Linked DNA regions of Homo sapiens: regions 1, 3 and 4 are each linked to region 2. Evidence: promoter capture Hi-C in 16 types of primary human blood cells and fetal thymus (Javierre and others, 2016). All regions are on one chromosome and are shown on one strand. The core of a region is centred on a gene start or on the middle of the fragment in contact, and the rest is flanking DNA. Distances in the headings are between cores, read along the strand shown.

Evidence for each region. The method cuts DNA at HindIII sites, captures the fragments that hold promoters and counts their contacts. A CHiCAGO score of 5 or more calls a contact.
Region 1: a fragment that was not itself captured here is called in contact with the fragment with the promoter of MCF2L-AS1 in region 2 in 4 of 17 cell types (naive CD8 T cells, total CD8 T cells, total CD4 T cells and 1 more); the score reaches 8.0 in naive CD8 T cells.
Region 3: a fragment that was not itself captured here is called in contact with the fragment with the promoter of MCF2L-AS1 in region 2 in 1 of 17 cell types (naive CD8 T cells); the score reaches 5.5 in naive CD8 T cells.
Region 4: a contact is called between a fragment that was not itself captured here and the fragment with the promoter of MCF2L-AS1 in region 2, in 2 of 17 cell types (M1 macrophages and M2 macrophages). The highest score is 5.8, in M1 macrophages.

Annotation. Positions count from the first base shown.
Region 1 is chr13:113,388,162-113,391,795 of GRCh38, forward strand. No RefSeq gene overlaps it. Among named protein-coding and RNA genes, the nearest start is that of GRTP1, 26 kb to the left of the region's middle. The HindIII fragment of the contact is 3,835 bases long and covers 1-3,575 here.
Region 2 is chr13:112,966,487-112,969,950 of GRCh38, forward strand. MCF2L-AS1 (MCF2L antisense RNA 1) reads right to left here and starts at 2,152. Exons shown (of 1, transcript NR_034002.1): 1 at 998-2,152. It overlaps MCF2L (MCF.2 cell line derived transforming sequence like), which reads left to right and starts at 2,728. Exons shown (of 30, transcript NM_001112732.3): 1 at 2,728-2,972. The coding sequence starts at 2,894. RefSeq lists an enhancer at 1,883-2,402 and a silencer at 2,604-2,663. The HindIII fragment of the contact is 5,254 bases long and covers 1-3,009 here.
Region 3 is chr13:113,237,243-113,240,542 of GRCh38, forward strand. It overlaps CUL4A (cullin 4A), which reads left to right. Exons shown (of 20, transcript NM_001008895.4): 10 at 2,191-2,309. Among named protein-coding and RNA genes, the nearest start is that of MIR8075, 24 kb to the right of the region's middle. The HindIII fragment of the contact is 404 bases long and covers 1,307-1,710 here.
Region 4 is chr13:113,411,790-113,415,558 of GRCh38, forward strand. The region is part of intron 7 of ADPRHL1 (ADP-ribosylhydrolase like 1); the gene reads right to left. Among named protein-coding and RNA genes, the nearest start is that of ADPRHL1, 40 kb to the right of the region's middle. The HindIII fragment of the contact is 9,349 bases long and covers 1-3,769 here.

The DNA.
Region 1 (3,634 bases), core at 408-2,907, 420 kb after region 2:
CCTCAGTCTCCTGAGTAGCTGGGACTACAGGCTCATGCCACCATGCCCGGCTAATTTTGTATTTTTGGTAGAGACAGGGTTTCAGCATGTTGGTCAGGCTGGTCTTGAACTCCTGACCTCAGGCAATCCACCCACCTCAGCCTCCCAAAGTGCTGGGATTACAGGCATGATCCACCACACCTGGCTTGGTACAAGAATCTTACAGGAAGCATTGTCAAATATAAAATGGTATTTGGTTTTCTTTGGGCTGTATTTGTATATATAAATGTGTTATTGGTATGTGTTCCAAAATTACTTTTAAAACTCCTATAATTCTCACATGATTTAGTGTATGTTATTAATAGATATAATTGTTATGTAAAATTTTGTATGCCACAGAAGTAATCAAATTTCCTTATCAGTTGTGGCTTTAATGATGGCTGTCCGAAGATGTTTTGTCATCCACAAACAATGGTTGTCTTGTTTTGGTCCTCTTTAGAAGGTGGTTTATAATCAGCTACAGGACTTTGACAGATGTTCTTGAGTGCAGGTTTCCGATAACTGGTGATGGTGACATCAGAATAGAGGAAAAAACTTTTAGAATTCTTATGGAGAGCTGAAATGTCCATGAATATCAAACAGAAGTTAACTACATGGACTAAACTAATAGAAACCAGAAGTAATCTTTTTAACTTTTTGCTTAAAATATTGCTGATCCTTTGTTTTGTTTTTCAGAATCAAGGAAACTTTTGAGCGAGTTATAGCTTTTAACAATTGAATAAGTATACTTGTATGAATAAAATTTGGAGCATATTTGTTTCTCTCTACCTAATTTCTCCAAAATTTGGGAACTAGTTGTGAGTATTCTTAATTTATGGCAATATAGCTATTTGCATAAGTGCAATAAGAATCTGTTTTCTTTTTTTTTTTTTTTTTTGAGACAGAGTCTTGCTCTGTTGCCCAGGCTGGAGTGCAATGGTATGATCTCGGCTCACTGCAACCTCCGCCTCCCAGGTTCAAGCAATTCTCCTGTCTCTGCCTCCCAAGTAGCTGGGATTACAGGTGCCAGCCACCACACCTGGCTAATTTTTGTATTTGTAGTAGAGATGAGGTTTCACCATGTTGGCCAGGCTGGTCTTGAACTCTTGACCTCAGGTGGTCTGCCTGCCTCGGCCTCCCAAAGCGCTGGGATTACAGGTGTGAGCCACTGTGCCTGGCCAGGAATCTGTTTTCTTTTGCAACAGGACACAATTGGAGAAACTGCTTATTTTACCAAGGATTTGACTAGAATGATGTGTTTTCCTTTAAGAAATTAAACGTGACTTATAGAGCTGATAAAGCCCCTTGGGAAAACTGACCTGATACGTTCTCTCCACAGTCCTTATACAGAGTTCCTGACCCGTGGTAAGTAAAGAATGTCACTTTATGCTGGGTGCGGTGGCTCATGCCTGTAATCCCAGCACTTTGAGAGGCTGAGGCGGGTGGATCATGAGGTCAGGAGATTGAGACCATCTTGGCTAAGATGGTGAAACCCTGTCTCTACTAAAAATACAAAAAATTAGCGGGGCATGGTGGCGGGCACCTGTAGTCCCACCTATTCAGGAGGCTGAGGCAGGAGAATGGCATGAACCCGGGGGGGCGGAGCTTGCAGTGAGCAGAGATCATGCCACTGCACTCCAGCCTGGGCAACAGAGCGAGATTCGGTCTCAAAAAAAAAAAAAGTCACTTTCTCACAGGCCCAGGAGCCCCAAGTTATCTTGGAAACTCAAGAGGAGAGAAATTTACTCAACTTACAGGTATTTGAGGGTACAAACCCATGGCGGGGCTCAGTTCTAAAAGAGTCTTAGCTAAGATTCCTTCTACGGAACAGAGTTCCATCAAAGCCAATTTAAAAAGAACCTATGTGAAAAATATTCTTGCTGCCCTTTATACAAATAATCAGGCCAAGTATAATAAAGTAAATCAGTCTTACCATGATTTGCCTTTAGTAAAAATGGGAAACTAGAGAGAGAAATATTATGTTTCAGGAACTGTGGTATGTTGTTTTTAAATTCTAGTCTCATCAGTTGTTTTTAGATTTGCTTCTGGAATTTAGGCTAACCTTGCTTATTCCTGTGAACCAACCAGTGAACTCTGACTGCTGCTCAGAAGAAATAAGAGGGATGGGTAATGTAAAAATCTGAATCAATATTCTAATTCTGGGCACACTAGAATTGGCTAGCAACCTCACATCATCTTGGTTCCAATAGTTGCCCAGTTCATGAAAAGCCTTCTAATTTAGTTTACTTGGAATAATTGTACTTATTTTGCTTTACTATTGTGGAATATATTGTTGTTGTACTCTGTGTAGGTATGCAAAATAAACTTGCTCAATGTTTTCTTAAACTGAACACTTATTAATTGCCCAGATATCACCTTTTGTTGGAACTTAAGAGTTATGAATAGCCCTCACCACACTGATGCCTTCTGACTGTGCTCCTCTCTACCCTGAACACAAGGGACCCTAATAGTTAGGCAGGAATGTCATCGCCCCTATTCAGCCTGAAGAAGTTACAGAAGATGGATCTTCATCCCCCTGCAACTCTTAGGATTAAGGGTTCTCTTATAAAAGGGAAAGAGAAAATGTCAGGCATGTTTGAACCAGAGCAACTCCATCTTGAGTAGGAGCTGGGTAAAATGAGGCTGAGACCTATTGGACGGCATTCCCAGGAAGTGAGACATTCTAAGTCACAGGATGAGATAGGAGATTGGCACAAGATATAGATCATAAAGACCTTGCTGATAAGACAGGTTGCAGCAAAGAAGCCGGCCAAACCCACCAAAACCAAAATGGCCACAAGAGTGACCTCTGGTCATCCTCACTGCTACACTCCCACCAGCTCCGTGACAGTTTACAGATGCCATGGCAACGTCAGGAAGTTACCCTATATGGTCTAAAAAGGGGAGCATGAATAATCCACCCCTTGTTTAGCATATCATCAAGAAATCACCATAAAAATGGGCAACCAGCAGCCCTCAGCTGCTCGCCTATGGAGTAGCCATTCTTTATTTCTTTATTTTCTTAATAAACTGGTTTCACTTGTCTCTATGGACTCGCTCTGAATTCTTTCTTGCGCGAGATCCAAGAACGCCCTCTGGGGGTCTGGATCGGGACCCCTGTCTGGTAACAACTGCAGATATCTCCCTCCAACACATTGAGCTGTGTGTTGATGTCTTGGAACTTGCTAGCTGTGAATTAACCTAACAATGCCATCCCCCACCCTGCAACCCACACCCTGCAGCTCAACGGTGCACAGCCCATCACTAATCAATGTTATTTCTGTCAACCAACAAGAATTCCTGAAAAACAACTTTGTATCAGCCACTCCCTGTTCCCCTTTTTGCCTTTAAAATCCTGATTGTAATAAAGGCCTAATGGGGCTCATATCCAAGGCCACTCGAGTCTCCCAGGCAGCTGTCCTCACCTTGGCTCAAGTCAACTCTTTAAATCATAATTTGCACCTCAGCCTCTTCCTTCTTGTCACCCTTACGTAAGTGGGATCCCACAGAATTTGTCCTTCTGTGTCTGGCTAATTTCACTCAGCATGGTGTCCTCAAGCTTCACCCAAGTTCCAGGGTAGGGAGGTTTTCATACAATTTTGTAGCCCGCGTAACC
Region 2 (3,464 bases), core at 902-3,401:
AATCTCATCTAAACATACCTTCACAGAGACATCTAACCTAGCATTTGACCCAATATCTGGGCACGGTGGCCCAGCCAAGTTGACAAGTAATAAAGCCAATGACCACAGAGACCAAGGGTCTCCACCCTGGTGCCCCAACATGACATGGTGCCAGCCAGAGGATATTGGCCAGGGGACAGAGTGGATGGCACAGGGTTGAGGAAAGAAGCCAATAGCATGTGTGGAGATGCCCAAGGGGTGAAGAGGGAGATCGGAGAAGCGGGACAGGCCAGAGGGTGTGGCCCTTTCCTTTCATCTTGCTTTTAAGATGCAACAGATTTCAGCAGTGTTTCTCAAAGTGTGGACCAGCACATTCAACATCCCAGGAAATTTTGCTAGAAATGCACATCCTCGGGCCCCATCCCAGACCTCCTGGATCAGCAAGGAGCCATCAGAGCCCAGCTGTGTGAGCTTAACAAGTCCTCGGTAGATCCTGACGCAGCCCAAGGCTGGGCAGGCTGGAGGGCACCTGCATGCCAGGAGAGCGGCCGGGAGAAGAGGGCAGGTGCTCAGAGGGAGTGTGGCCTAGGGCCGTGTGGGCTGAGGACCAGGGAGGGTGTTGTGCCTTAGACTAGTGGAAAGGGCAGGGCCTGCATTTCAGGACCCTTCTGCCTGATGACAGGCTTTCCCTGAAGCTGGAGGGGCAGGGTTGGGGTGGGGGGGCGGTGGGGGATGGGGAGTGGTGAAGGTTCCCTGAACTGACAGGGAATGAGAGGAGCAGACCCATTTGAGGGCACTTTTTGCAGACCATGTGTAGACAGGAGGTAGCAATTGTGCCGCCGTAGGCACCCTGGGCAGCCCAGGGAACGCTTGTCCACAGAGGGAGAGGCTCCCATCCACTCTGAGGCCTTTCCAGAGTTCTCCTTTCACTGGTCTCCAAAGAGATTCTGTAGAACCAAGTGAAACTGCTGATACTCAATACGTTTCTCATGTTAAACAAAAACAAAAACAAAGCAGCCATTTCTTACAGATTTATTCAATACTTTCTATCTGGTTATTATGCCTCTTATTCTGTAATTATTTTTTATTATGAATTATTTATTTCCAGATCTGTCTGGCCTATAAGGCCTGTAGGCACTATAAGGGGGAGTACTGCGTCACCTTCATCTTTTTATCCCTTTGGCCTTGCTCCGTGCCTGAAAGCTCACCACACTGGAACGTCCAGGTGCACATGTGCCACTGGACACCGGGATGTTGCCGGATGCTCTTTTGGACGCTGGAATGCTGGTGCATTGTTGCCGGATGCTGGAATGGTGCACGCACGCTCTGTTGGACGCTGGAATGCTGGTGCATTGTTGCCGGATGCTGGAATGGTGCACGCATGCCCTGTTGGACTCTGGAATGCTGGTGCATTGTTGCCAAATGCCGGAATGGTACACGGATGCTCTGTTGGACGCTGGAATGCTGGTGCATTGTTGCCGGATGCTGGAATGGTGCACGCATGCTCTGTTGGACGCTGGAATGCTGGCGCATGTGCACATGTTATTGGCATGAGCTGTAGTTCAAACCTCAGCCATATGATGCTTGAATTCCCAAACCATTCGTGGAAATGTGTACTTCTTCCTGCTGGAATTCTCTCTCTCTCTCTCTCTCTTTTAACTGATTGGGGAGTGAGGTGGGGGGGGGGGTCTTGCTACATTGCCCAGGCTCAAACTTCTGGGCTCAAATGATCCTCCTGCTTCTGCCTCAGCTTCTGCCTCGGCCTCCGGAGTAGCTGGGACTACAGGCCTGAAATACTGTTTCTTTAAGGAAGGGCATGTTACCTATAATACCAAACCACAAAAGGATAGCTGCGGTTTTGGGCGAGGAGAGCTCAGAGAGTTTCTTGCATATGGCCCTGTGATGGCGGCCATGGCCCTGCATAGACACGAGCTGGAATCTGCAGGTGGCAGCCAGGACGCTGCGTGTGTCGAGTGCACAGTGTGGCTTGGTGCCAACCATGGCGAGGGTGGAGAGCCCCGTGCCTGCAGCGCGCGCTTCCCTCACTGGGTCCTGCGTCCTTGGGCAGGCGATGCCCCTGCGGGGAGGGGCTGGTCCATCCCCGGCCAGCCACGGACCCACGCATGGACCCAGCGACCCACGGACCTGCTTACCTGGGCGCGGCGCGGGTGGCATGCGGCCACACGGAAGGGGCGCGCTGGGCTGCTGCGGCCTCTGCAGCTTCTACACCTGCCACGGGGCGGCCGGAGGTAAAGGGAGGCGGCGGCCAGGCGCGGCCCCGCGGAGGCAGCTGCACTCGCTCGGTCCACTCGCGGCTTCGCGGCTGCCCGCAAACCAGGAGGGCGTGGAGACCCGGAACCGGGGGGAAGGGCGGGGGCACTTGTGCGGCACCCGCGGGGCTCCCAGGGGACCTCGGCGGTGACACGAATTTCTAGGTGACCTTGGCGGTGACACGAATTTCTAGGTGACCTGTGTGATACACTAGGTGACCTAGTGACACAGGTGACACTTCCAGGTGACCGCGGCGGTGACCCGCGGGGCTCCCAGGTGACCTCGTTGGTGAGCCCCGGGGCTCCCCGACGACCGCGGCGGTGACACGCGGGGCTCCCAGGTGACCCCGGCGGTGCACTCACAGGACTCCCAGGTGACCCGCGGTGGTGACACACCGGGGCGGGCGCGCGCCGCTTCCGCTTCCGCCGAGCCGCCCCCCGCCCCCCGCGGCGCAGCGCGCGCCCCCCTCCCGGTGGCGCGGAACCAATCCTGGGCAGGGAGGCGGCGGCTGGAGGCTGAAAGCGCTGCCGTGGCCCCCTCCCCGCCTCCGCCGCGCCCCCTCCGCACTCGCACGGCCCCACCCGCAGGCGCCCCCCGTGCGGAGGAAGCGGATCTGCCAGGATCATTTTTGTTGTGTCGGAGGATGAGGTTTTGGCTGAGGACTGAAGAGATGGCCTTGGAAGAAATGGTGCAGAGATTAAATGCGGTTTCCAAGCACACGGGTAGGAGGAGCTGCTGGCCGTCAGTGATCTGTGCTTAAGCTTGACATCATGGGCTGAAATGTGGGGAAATGCGTCTGATTTTTGTAAGCCGCCCTCGTGTTCCTTTCTAGCCGTGGTAGCTGTGACATGGGGGGCACTGGTTGGCAGCTGGTGTGTTTTCAGAGGCTGTCGGCGATCGTATGCTGCCCGGGATAGTCAAAATGACTGCACGTTGGTGACACTGGCTCTCTCAGGGTTGCTGGGTCTGCATGCGGAGCCATTTGTGTGTCTGAAGTCTGCCCATCAACCTGCCTGTCCGCAGCCCTCGCAATGGAGAATGCATTGCGAATGGAGAATGATCTGAGCCAAGGGCTTTCAGAGCTTGGGGTTTCAGAGCCAGGGGTAGGGATGGTGAAGCTACCTGGAAGCTCGTTTTGAGGATGAAAAAACCTGGACTAATCAGGTGGTTCTTTTCTTCATTAAATGCAATTTAAACCTAAGACAGATGTTTGA
Region 3 (3,300 bases), core at 259-2,758, 270 kb after region 2:
ATGTAGGGGACTCGGGGAGCTGTTCGGGCTGTTAGATTTTCGTGAGGCTTCCCTCACCTGCGGACTTCGTGCATCTTAGTGTCAGATGAACTACCGACTAGGTGGTCTGCTTAAGCAGAGTATACTTTTCTCCTGGTTTTCTGGAAGAGAAGAGCATGTGTTCTAGTGCTGACGGCGCGGCCTTCACGTCCGCTTCTCCCCAAGTGGTGGCAGTACCTGGCCATAGGAAGGTGGCTTCTAGCAGCCTGCACCTTTAAAATTGATGCTGATGTCTTACCTCGATCTTTGTTTATTGCTGTTTTTTCTAGGCTTCAAAGTGTGCTGAATTCTATGAAAATTACAATGAGCAGTCTAACCTTTGTAACACTTTAGTACTTACTGGCACATTTCACTGTTACCATTTGAAACAATGTTACCTTCTGAAAGTCATTTTAAATGTATTTGGAAAATACGAGACTTTTTTCAAGCCATTGGAAACCTTAAAGTTTAATTTTGAGAAGGCCCTAAATGGTATTCAAATATATTCTGCTTTGGGTTCTACATTGTCAGATAATAGTATTATGGCTAATGAGATACTTAAGTGAAACCAGAATAAAACCAAAAGGGAGGAGAATTAACATGATTGAGCATCTCCTGTTACAAACAACTCCACTTGATGTGAATATCTTTTCAAGCAATTCTGTGAAATCATTATCCCCATTCTACAAATAAGAAAACCAGGGCTTAAAACAGCCAGATGTTGGTGCCTGGAATCACATTGCTTGTGAGCTGAGAGTCACGGGTCCAATCTGGTTATGATGTTTCTGCTTATTCCACACTGAAACCTACACATCACCTATCCACCTAAAAACAAATGCATTCAGAATTTGTGTCAGGTGTTTTTATGAAAGGAGTCACTTTATAAGAAAAAAGGCCAGGCATAGTGGCCCATACCTGTGACATCAGCACTTTGGGAGGCCAAAGTATCACTTTGGATCACTTGAGCCCAAGAATTCACGACCAGCCTGGGCAACAAAGAGAGACCCTGTCTCTACCAAAAAAATAAAAATAAAATTTTTTTTTAAAGCCACAGGTGGTGCATGCCTAGGGTACCAGCTACTCAGGAGGGTGAGGTGGGAGGATCACTTTGGCCCAGGGGGTTAAGGCTACAAAACTACAAAAACCTGGGTGACAAAGCAAGAGACCTGTCTCAAAAAAAAAAGAGAAAAAAGATTTCAAGTAAATAGTAGAAATTTGCATAAATTGTTCCAGTGCATACTTTGTTAAGCAAAATTATTTAAAGAAAATGGTAAATTATATATGTAAAAGCTTACCCTAAATTTTATTAGAAATATTTTAAAAATTAAAAAGATACTTTTGAATTCTTAAGACATGGGTTTTAGTAAAATAAAGTATAAAAAGTTTGTGTCAGTAGATCAGAATGTAATTGAGAGAAATAAACATTTGGAGCTCTAGGTGAGGATTGTAATTATAGCCCCACCATGTGTTTGCGCACAGCTTTAAACCTCCTCGTTTGTGTGAACATCGTGCCCAGTGTAGGCAGAATCTGAGACTTTGTGAATTGTATGACTGTTCACCATTTTATGCTTTAACCTGGCTGCCTCTCAGTAGTTATCATAAAGCAAGTATTTAGAAAATCTATGAGAGTTTTTCTCATTGAGGTATGGTTTCAGAAAACCGTTATAAATATTAAAAATCTAAAACACTGAAAGCTTTTTTAAATGCTGTGTTAAACACTTCAAAATATCCGATGATGTTTTTCTCTTATAGTTTACTATAGGTGTGAATAAATTTAATCCACTATAAATTAGATTTGATAGCTTGTCCTTTTACATTGTCTGGCCGATGGACTAAATCAGAAGTAGATTGAGAACATGAACCTCCCAGGTTAAATAGTTGGTGTAAACTGGATTTTCTGACTTGCTAACTTAAGTGAAATAAGAGGGCTTCAATGACATAAAGAAGTAAATAATACATCTTCCAACATACTCAGAGAAAATGAGGTTCACCTAATAGGATCCATCTCACATATTTAACCAGATCAACCTGCTCATGTAGAGGCAGCGATGTGGAGACCCGCCCAATTTCTAAGCGGTGTATTGACGTTCTTCTGGTGCACGCTGTATTCTAGTTGAGTTGTTGTTAATGCTGCCCATGCTGTACTCTGCTGACGTGTACTGCACATCTCAGGGCTCGACCACTTACTGGATGAGAACAGAGTGCCGGACCTCGCACAGATGTACCAGCTGTTCAGCCGGGTGAGGGGCGGGCAGCAGGCGCTGCTGCAGCACTGGAGCGAGTACATCAAGGTACTGGCGGGGTTTTGAGGCCGCGGGCGTGGGCATTCCCTGCAGGGAGCAGAGCCCCTCCTGAGAACGCCTAGTGTGCCCTGGCAAAGGGAACTGGGCTGCTGGAGGGCCCGTCTGCATTTTCATCACAGATGATAGGGTGGACAGTAGGCTTCCATCTGCTTCCCAATCACCAGTGTGAATTTGCTTTTTAGGATAACACCAGCAGTGATTAGCACCATCAAGGTAGAAAGTATAACTTAAAGAACAACTGTTTTGCTCTTCTTCATCAGCATAAATATTGGTTTAATTCTAAATCATGATTTTTCCTAAAGTAATCATTTTTGTAAATCTGCTTGTCAGACATGATCTCCTCATGCCCTTTCCTCAGGGAGAACTATTATATATTTGGCATATCAGTTTGCTTTATAAACTTTATTTCTTAACGGTCCAAATTTAGGATTTATTACTTAAACTTTCACTTTCATGTTTCGAAAGCATTTCTTTGGCATCCCTAACAAGCCCAGTCCAACCCGTCGTAGAGTGGCTTCTTGGGCAGTACCCTGAGTTTTCACATGTCCTGTGCAGGAGAACGGCCCTTTGGTGCTGACATAGGACCTCCCTGAAGACTAGGGGCTCTCGGCCCAGGGCACCACCCCACCAAGGGGACATTTGTTGATGTCTGGAGACATTTGTGGCTGTCTGAACAGAGAGGGTGCGGCTTGCTTTGCTGGGCAGCACCAGGGGTGCTGCTGAATGCACAAGGCAGCCCTCACCACAAAGAATCACCTGCCCAGAGGGCCAGAGTTGCCCAGCCCAAGAAACCTGCTGAAGACCCTCTAATGAGAAGCCATTCTCCAGATGCCCCTCACAGAAACAGGAGAACTGAGGCAGACATCAGGGCCCCTTCACAGATAGCTCGTGTTTTCAGGATGTGCCAGTTGCCTAGCATGAATTTTCCAGCTTAAATGGTGAACATTTAGCAAAAGTCTGTGTTTTTGCTTGCTGGTGA
Region 4 (3,769 bases), core at 51-2,550, 440 kb after region 2:
GAGCGAGAGGGGTTTCCACAGCCCCCTTCACAGAGCCTTTGTGTTTTGCAATCATCATTAACCAAGTTCCTCCCTGGGTCTGGCCTGGCCACTCCCCTGCTCCCTGCTGTCCTGCCATTCCCCTGGGCTGCCCCTTCTCGTCACAAAGTCCTGCGCCCACCGCCCACTATTGCGCTCACCCTCTCTGGTCCCCGCCCCTCGTGGTAGCCCCAGAGGTGCTGCTGTCTTTGGGTTCCTTGAACCTGCGGGTGGTTCCTTCTTCCGGGGTCTACTCCCGGCTCAGCATGTTCTGTGCTCTGGGTTTCACTGGTTGGGGGATTCTGGGAGCCCCCAGCTCAGCGTGTGCTGCTGCTGCTGGCACATCCCGGGTGACTACTGTCACAGCACTATAATTTGCTTTTTTTTTGGGACGGAGTCTTGCTCTGTCGCCCAGGCTGGACTGCAGTGGCGCGATCTCGACTCACTGCAAGCTCCGCCTCCCAGGTTCACAGCATTCTCCTGCCTCAGCCTCCCGAGTAGCTGGGACTACAGGCGCCCGCCACCACGCCCGGCTAATTTTTTGTATTTTTTAGTAGAGACGGGGTTTCACCATGTTAGCCAGGATGGTCTCGATCTCCTGACCTCGTGATCCGCCTGCCTCGGCCTCCCAAAGTGCTGGGATGACAGGCGTGAGCCACCGCGCCCAGCCACAGCTCTATAATTTTCTAAGATCCGAGTGCACTTTTCAACAAGTCACCCCTGTTTCTGCCCAGCTCCCCACTAGAGCAGAGCCCCTGCATGGGCGGGACCCCTGTTGGTTCTGGTCTCTACTTTCCCGAGTCCAGAGCAGCGTTGGGCACAGCCGGGCGGGCTGGCAGAAGACCCGTGGGTGGCGAACAGCCCCCGTGGAGGCTCGGTTCACCCACCGCCAACAGTGCCCCGGAGGCTCAGTTCACCCACCGCCAACAGTGCCCCGCGGAGCTCGGTTCACCCACCGCCAACAGCGCCCCGCAGAACTCGGTTCACCCACCGCCAACAGCACCCCGCAGAACTCGGTTCACCCACCGCCAACAGCGCCCCGCAGAGCTCGGTTCACCCACCGCCAACAGCGCCCCGCAGAGCTCGGTTCACCCACCGCCAACAGCACCCCGCAGAACTCGGTTCACCCACCGCCAACAGTGCCCCGCAGAGCTCGGTTCACCCACCGCCAACAGCGCCCCGCAGAGCTCGGTTCACCCACCGCCAACAGCGCCCCGCAGAGCTCGGTTCACCCACCGCCAACAGCGCCCCGCAGAGCTCGGTTCACCCACCGCCAACAGCGCCCCGCAGAGCTCGGTTCACCCACCGCCAACAGCTCCTCGCAGAGCTCGGTTCACCCACCGCCAACAGCGCCTCGCAGAACTCGGTTCACCCACTGCACAACCCTGTTTCTCTCCTGGCCACCCCCTTTTCTGCCAGCTCCAGCCTCCACCCTGTTTGTCCACTCCACGCCCAACCTCGCTGTGCCCTTCAGCCTGGAACAGCCTCGCTGCCTCCCTGACGAGCTCCTATTCATCCTTCACAACCCGGCTCAGATGCCCCCACCTCAGGGAGCCTTTCCCAGAGGCCCAGCTCTGTGAGCCCCACGGTGACCCACACAGACCTCTATGTCCCCACAAAGGGGAACAGCGTGGACGCCAGGAACGCCCCCAAGTCATGGACTGAGAGGGGGGCCCAGGACTTTCGGCGACTCCCGCGTGGGGCTCTGCGTGTCTCCCGAGGCGCCCTGTGATCGGGGCCTTCACTTGCTGTGAAGGTGGGCCTCTCGCCCTTTCCCACCCCTGCTGCACACCTTGCTGCTGAGTGAACGCGTCCTCATGCGCTGGAGCCAGTGCTGCCCCTTGGGCCGTCAGCCCCACCCCTCAAAGCCTCCTGAAAAGGCCCCCGGTCAGAGCTGCGCTGGCGGAGTCTGGGCTGCCCTGTGTGACCGCTGCCCGCCCAGCAGTGCGGGGCGAGACCGGGCCTCCCTCAGCGTCCCCTCAGCACTTGGACAAGCTGCAGAACCCACAGGGAATGGAATGTCTTCCTCCCAGGGGCCAATATAAACAGCAGGGTGCCCGGCTTTCCTAATTTAGTTGTTGGTGGCTCTGGCCAGCCAGAGAGGTCGTTTGAAAATACAATGAGACTAGAGGCCATCACAGCGCAGGAGACACACCCGGGCCCACCATGATATGGACAGCAGCCCCTGTTGGCAGGTTCTTTGCTGGGGACTTTCTGGCCAGCAGGGCCTGGAGGTCACTGTTCTGCCCAGTCAGTGGCTGTGCTGGGCTCACCCGAGCCTGGCCCTGCGGCAGGGAACACCCTCAGCCGCAGTTTCCTCCTCTGAGAGAAGGGCAGGGCCGGTTTCACGTGGCAGCTGGGCCTGCAACTGTCTGGCTGTTCCAGGAGCCTGCTCAGAACACGGACCAGCCTCAGCCATGTCACACACATCCCTGTGCCAGCCTCCACATGTTTCTGACAGGGACACTTGGATGCCCTCGGCCAACAGCGCTTAGAAAACATGTCCTGGGCCTCCATCAACACCAGAGGCCTGCACTGCCATTTCCTGCCCCTCTGCGGATGAGCCTGGAGCCGCCCCCCCTTCCTCCCCTTGGCAGATTGGCCCCCACCCTCCCTCCCTCAGTCCCCAGCCTCCCTGCCCTCTGCGGCTCAGCCCCCGGCTTCCCTCCCCTCTACAGCTCAGTCCCGGCCTCCCCGATATGCTCTCAGGGCACTACAGGCCTGTCTGGGGGCACACATCCTGGCTGTGGCTCCATCTGTGCCTGTGGAACTGCTCTTGTCGCTGTGGTGCCAATGCTCCTCTTCCAGGGGCAGGGCCACGTGCCTCTGCACATCTCCCTGAGTGTGCTGAGCAGGGGTCTTCTGTTTTCTGTTTTTTTTTTTTTTTAGATGGAGTCTTTCTCTGTCACTCAGGCTGGAGTGCAATGGCGTGATCTCGGCTCACTGCAAGCTCCGCCTCCCGGGTTCAAGCCATTCTCCTGCCTCAGCCTCCCAAGTAGCTGGGATTACAGGGGCCCGCCACCACGCCCAGCTAATTTTTGTATTTTTTTAGAGATGAGGTTTCACCATGTTGGCTAGGCTGGTTTCGAACTCCTGACCTCATGATCCATGCCCCTCAGCCTCCCAAAGTGCTGGGATTACAGGCATGAGCCACCATGCCCAGCTCAGCCTCTTCTGTTTTTATGGCTGCTTGTTCTGTGCCCATTTTCCCCTGAAGCCATGAAGATCAGGGAGGGCGACACCTCCCTAGGTAGCCAGCGCCCAGCAACCCCCTGGGGCAGGTGAGGAGAGGGGAGGGGCCGTTTGGCAGCTGCGGTGGCAGAGTCCCTTCCACAGCTCATGGACAGAGACACTGGGGCTGCACCTTTGGGCTCCTGGGGTTCTTGCTGGTCAGCCTAGAGGGACGAGAGCCCTTCTGGAGACGCGGACCTGCCCGTGTCCGGGTGGGGCAGGGTGAGAAACGCCTGCCCGCGATGTGGTCCCCAAGCAGAGTGTGGACCTGGAAAGGGTTTAACCAAAGGCATTGAATAAGTGGCCTCCATGGCCCAGCTGCTCTACTGATGACAGGAAATGTTCTGCCCAGAGGCCAGCCAGGCGTGGGCTCAGTGGCCGGCTCCAGGCGACCAGGCAGGGTCCACCGAATTAGTGTTATAAAAAGAGAAGGGCTGGGTGCGGTGGCTCATGCCTGTAATCCCAGCACTTTGGGAGGCCGAGGCAGGCGGATCACGAGGTCAGGAGTTCGAGGCCAGTC